Regions from separate parts of the Homo sapiens genome. Here region 2 is linked to region 1. Evidence: promoter capture Hi-C in 16 types of primary human blood cells and fetal thymus (Javierre and others, 2016). All regions are on one chromosome and are shown on one strand. The core of a region is centred on a gene start or on the middle of the fragment in contact, and the rest is flanking DNA. Distances in the headings are between cores, read along the strand shown. Region 1 holds the start of ERCC4 (ERCC excision repair 4, endonuclease catalytic subunit). Region 2 has its middle 2.0 kb from the start of NUBP1.

Region 1 (2,700 bases), core at 3-2,502:
ATATCTAGGGGATCATCAGACTTGTCCGACCAAGCTGTGTCCCCTCTCAACACCCCTCAGACCCATGTGTAGCCCCATTCCATCTTTCTCAGTGTTCTCCATTGTCCTTAACTGTAGTTAACCTTTGCCAACATCCTCAGCGTCAAGCTCCAATCCCTTTCTGACCCTATGGCCCTCTTAACACAGCCTTGGTGAATGTCCTATTTCCTGGTCCCTCCTTTTCCCTATTGGGGTTTTTCCAGCGCCTCAGCATCTCCTTTCATGTCTCCCCATCACCCTCAGAGATCTTCCATCCTCATCACTGTTCCCTTTCAGGGACCTTCCTTCTGCCCCCAGAAACTCCCTTAATGGCCAACTTCAGGACTCTCCCGTTATTCCTATCCAGATCCTCCTTCCGACATCTCCCCCTCCCCTGCAGCGACCTCCGATCCTCTCCTACCACTCAGAGCCCCTTCACCTTTCAGTGCCCTTGCACCCATGTCAGGGACCTGCATCCTTCTGGGGACCCCTCCCATCCCTCTTAGTGTTGTCAGGGAATTGCATCCTTCTCGGGACCCCTTCCATCATTCTCACTGTGCCTGCACAGTGTCAGGGACCCGCATCCCCTGGGGACCCCTCCCATTTCTCTTAGTGTTCTTGAACTCTGGTCAAAGACTTGCATCCTTCTTGGGACCCCTCCCTTCCCTCTCAGAGTCCCCGCACAGTGTCAGGGACTGGCATTCCTCTTAGTGTTCTTCAACTCCTGCCAGGGACCTGCAGCCTTCTCGGGGCCCCTCCAATTCTTATCAGTGTCCCCGCACGGTGTGAGCGACCGGTATCCTCCTAGCGACCCCTTACATACGTCTGTGTTCCCGCAGTGTGAGGGACCTGCATCCCCCTGGGGACCCCTGCCATCCTTCTCTGTGTCATCGCGTAGTGTCAGGGGCCTGAATCCCCCTCAGAGCCCCTCCATCCCTGTCAGAGGCCTCGCATCCGCTCAGGAGGCCCTCAACACTCTCGGAGTCCCCTCACTCCCGCGCCAGCGCGGCCGCACCTCCTCGGCCGGCTGCGTGTTGAGCACCAGCACCAGGCAGGCTGGGTGGCAGTGCAGCTGGAGAAAGTGGTAGAGGAGCCGGTCCGCGCCGAGCCCGCGGGCGCACACTACTAGCCCGTCAGTGTCGAGCAGTTCCAGCACCAGCTGTCGCTCGTACTCCAGCAGCGGCGCCATGGCAATCCGTCGAGCCGGCTGCCCTGACTCCATGGAAGCTCTTCCGGGTCGCAGCCGAACGCAGCCGAAGGAAGCCGACTCCTAGTGGAGAGTAGGCCGAACTCAACCGAAGAGAGCCGAGTCCGAGAGGACGGCAGCCAGCCGAACGTAGCCGAGGAGAGCTGAGACTGAGATGATCGTGGGCCGAACGCAGCCGAAGAGGAGCCGAGGCCACGACAGGCGCGCTCTCAGAAAGCCGAAGAGAGCCGAGCCTGAGAAGGCAAGCGTTGGCCGAACTCAGCCGAAGAAGAGCCGAGTGGAGCCGAAGATTCATGGAGTCACCTGTAGGGGCTGGCGCCCCCTGTCGGTGTAGCTTGCAGATATCAGGCTCCATTCACGTCTCTTTTGAGTTTCCACATCCCCTGGCACCCTAGCCTCAAGCTGCCAAAAAGCAAGGGAAGGGGAAGTAAGCCTAAGGAGCTTAATCCCCCGACATCGACAGTTGAAAAAGTTACTGGTCAATATTCCAAATGCGCCAAGAGTTAGTAGCACCTGTTTCCTAGGGTGGTTTTTGGCCCTTCCTTTTGCGATTACTCCCCATCCTTCTTTTAATTTTTTTTTTCTTTCCCGAGACAGGATGTTGATATGTTGCCCAGGCTGGAGTGCAGTGGCTGTGGAATAAGCAGAATCATTTACTGACTTCAGACCTCTGTTTGCCTCCCAAAGACTTCAATACAATAAACTATTTTTAAAAATCCCTCCTTCCACTAGAGGGACACCTCCCGCAGTGTTTGTTCTATACCTAGAAATGCCTGATAGTTGAACTAGTAGAGGAATTGTTTTGTATAGAAACCCCCCACCTTTGTTATTAGAAAATAGAAAATACAAGTAAACAAAAATGAAAATCACTTGTTTCCATTACTTGGAAATAACCACTGTTAACATCACGAAATCTATTTTATTTAGTCCTTTTTTTTCTATCTATATACACATTCTCTCATCACACGGAGTTCTTTTACCGACACGAGATAATTAATATCCCTGATTTAAATCCCCAGCTTTGTCATTAACATTTGGCAAACCTCTGAACATGATGTTTCATATTCTTTTACAAAGTCCTTTTATATGGCTGATGAGATTTCCATTATGTGGGTGTACTTACCTAATTGCTTATTAGAGGACATTTAGTCTGTTTCTGCTTTTTCCCTTCCAGTAATATAAATAATATTTCACTAAACATCTTTGTATGTAAATTCAGCCGTGGCCTTCAGATACACGTCTAGAAATGAATAATCACTGGGATAAAGAGAAAAAAATTTGTAAGGCTTTTCATTCCATTCACATTGCCACATTGCCCTCTAGAAAGCCTATACCAATTCACATTCACACTAGCCGTTTCCAAGAGGATCTGTTCCTCTACCTCTTTACTGCTTAATCTGGTATTTTGCTTACATTTTGTCAAGATGAAAATAGCATATAATTCCTGAATGCTGTTTAAGTGGAAAGGGTTGCCG
Region 2 (2,799 bases), core at 159-2,658, 3.2 Mb after region 1:
TCAGTTTGTCCCGTTTTTGGTAATGTGAAGCTTGATCGCTTGCTAAAGGTGGTGTCTGCCCCATTTCTCCATTTAATGTTTCCTTCTTCCATTTGTAATTAACAGGTACTCTCTGGGACCATCTTCTTCTCTATCAGCCTTTCACTCAGTGATTTTAGCAGCATTTATATATATATATATAAAACTATAGATTATATATATGATAAATATATATCAGTTTTATACCCTCTCTTTTTTTCTTTTTTTTCGAAGACTCACTATGGATTCCTGGATTTTTTAAAATTGTCTTTTATAATCAATTATTATTCTTTCTGGTCGATTTTTTTTCCCCCAGATGTGGCCAGTGAAGCCCCTTCAAGACAGTTCTTATGTTCTTTGGGCACTAATCCAGCTTCTTTGAGCATTTTCTTGCTTTCTGATACAAGATGTTTCAGTCATCCCTTCTCCCTGCTGCAGTCATTTCTTCAGGGAGCCTTGGTTACTTTTTAGCAGACAACAGTTCAGAAACCAAGATGTGGATGCCACAAATGCTCATTGCTACTGGAGTGTCATTGCTCACAGGTTTGGCACCTGGAATATTAATGAGTGAACAAACTTTACCTAGCCCCAGACACTAAGAATATGGAAACGTTTATTTATTTATTTATTTTTGAGGCGGATTCTCGCTCTGTCACCCAGGCTGGAGTGCAGTGGTGGGATCTCGGCTCACTGCAAGCTCCGCCTTCTGGGTTCACGTCATTCTCCTGCCTCAGCCACCCGAGTAGCTGAGACTACAGGCCACCACGCCCGGCTAATTTTTTGTATTTTTAGTAGAGACAGGGTTTCACCATGTTAGCCAGAATGGTCTCGATCTCCTGACCTCGTGATCTGCCCGCCTTGGCCTCCCAAAGTGTTGGGATTACAGGCATGAGCCACCGCACCCGGCCTCGGAAACATTTATTAAACAGCAGTGTATCAGCTGCCTGTCACTACCACTAATTATAGCCAGCATTTTGTAGAATACTTACCGTTTGGCAGCTGTCATCTTTGTGCTTTCATGTGAATTACCTAATTTATGTCCTTTCATAGTCCTACTGTCTCCATTTTTGGATAAGGAAACTGAGGCTTAAAGTAAACTACTTTCCCGAGGTCGCATGACTGGTAGCAGGGGAACCAGGGTGATAAACTTGGTCTGTCTGGCTGCAGAGCCTGCACTTAGTAACACATGGTCCCAGCCAGCACTGGGCTAGATGCCAATGATTCCAGACTAACCTGGACCCTGCCATCTGGAGCACAGTCTGGTCGGGAGAAGAGGACCAGAGTGATGGGGCATCAGCAAAGGCCTGGAGAGCAGAGAGGAAGTCACCTATCAGGTAGGGACTGTTGTCATTTCCGTTTTACAGGTGATAAGATGGCTGCAAAGATTTACTTGTCCACAGTCTGAGAGGCAGAAAGAGCAGAACTGGGTTTTTAACCAAGTCTGATACAGGGCCTTTGCTATTAATCACTATACTGTATATTAGAGGGCAGGATGCAAGTTATTCTCCTTTTTATTTTTATTTTTGTGGGATGGAATCTCACTCTGTTGCTCATGCTGGAGTGCAGTGGTGTGATCTTGGCTTACTGCAACCTCCACCTCCCGGGTTCAAGCAATTCTCCTGTGTCAGCCTCCTGAGTAGCTGGGACTACAGGTGCCCACCACCACGCCTGGCTAATTTTTTGTATTTTTGGTAGAGACGGGGTTTTACCATGTAGGCCTGGCTGGTCTCGAACTCCTGACCTCAGGTGATCCACCCGCCTCAGCCTACCAAAGTGCTAGGATTACAGGTGTGAGCCACCGCGCCTGGCCAGGGCCGCTTCTTAAGGTGAGTGCTCCCCAAGACTCTGTTCTTGGGCCACTTCCAGTCCCACTTCCCACTTCCTCCTGGGCAAGCAACTGACAGCCCTGATGCTATCCATCTTCTGTCTCCAGCTCCCACACCTCTTGCTCCGTGAGTTCGGATCTGTGGATCCTACCTTGTGCCTATTGGATTTTATTGCATGGACATCCCACAAGCGTAACAAATAAACGTCTACAACTTCTTCTCAAGGCGGTTCCTGCCTCTGGATTTGTTATACCTGGACAGGGCATGACCCCTGGGCTAAGAACTCAAGCCGTAAATCTGAGTATCAGCCTTGTTTAGTTTTCTCCATCTCCATCAGTGATCAAGTGCTGTGTGACAAGTCACCCCAATATGTAGTGGTTTAAACCCACCATGGTTTATTGCTTCCTGTGACTCTTCTGGTTTCACCTGGGCTCCCTTAATGTGGCTTCATTCAGCTGGGAGTTGGCTGGAAGGTCTCAAATGGCTTCACTCTCACACTGGCCTTGATTCCCCCCTCGTGGCCTCCCTCTCTCATTTTTCAGTGGTCTAGCCTGTGTCCCTTTAAATGGCAGCTGGGAATGACAAAGCTGGGAAGTGGCAGTCACTTTCACCATGTTCTCTCGGTCAAAGTGTCACAGACACAGACTCCTCTTGTTGATTAGTGGGGTGGCGTACCTATACAGGGATGGGGGTCAGTGTTGTCCATAGAGACGCCCACAGCACCCCCTGCATCCAATCAGACATCAGGTCAGCAGCTGCACCCCTAGGTGGTAGGCTGGTAGCACACATGACCCCACTTCTCTCCCTGTCTGGATCTGTGCCCTTGGCTGCTGAACTTTGCAGTGCCCTCCCACGTGCGGGGAGGGGGTTCCATCCTACCCCTTGACTCTGTGCTCAGGCATGTGACTTACTTTAGCAAATGTGATTCAAGAAAAAGCTTGTAATGGGGCTTTTG

The links. Contacts are between HindIII fragments. The CHiCAGO score rates a contact against its expected background, and 5 or more counts as called.
Region 2: a fragment that was not itself captured here is called in contact with the fragment with the promoter of ERCC4 in region 1 in 2 of 17 cell types (naive CD4 T cells and total CD8 T cells); the score reaches 7.4 in naive CD4 T cells.

Annotation. Positions count from the first base shown.
Region 1 is chr16:13,918,706-13,921,405 of GRCh38, reverse strand. ERCC4 (ERCC excision repair 4, endonuclease catalytic subunit) reads right to left here and starts at 1,252. Exons shown (of 11, transcript NM_005236.3): 1 at 1,034-1,252. The coding sequence starts at 1,240. The region is part of intron 1 of LOC105371093 (a long non-coding RNA gene); the gene reads left to right. LOC124903647 (a long non-coding RNA gene) reads left to right here and starts at 1,328. Exons shown (of 2, transcript XR_007065001.1): 1 at 1,328-1,727; 2 at 1,823-1,941. RefSeq lists enhancers at 799-1,008, 1,049-1,408, 1,619-1,668. The HindIII fragment of the contact is 6,939 bases long and covers 1-2,700 here.
Region 2 is chr16:10,740,492-10,743,290 of GRCh38, reverse strand. No RefSeq gene overlaps it. Among named protein-coding and RNA genes, the nearest start is that of NUBP1, 2.0 kb to the left of the region's middle. The HindIII fragment of the contact is 2,751 bases long and covers 33-2,783 here.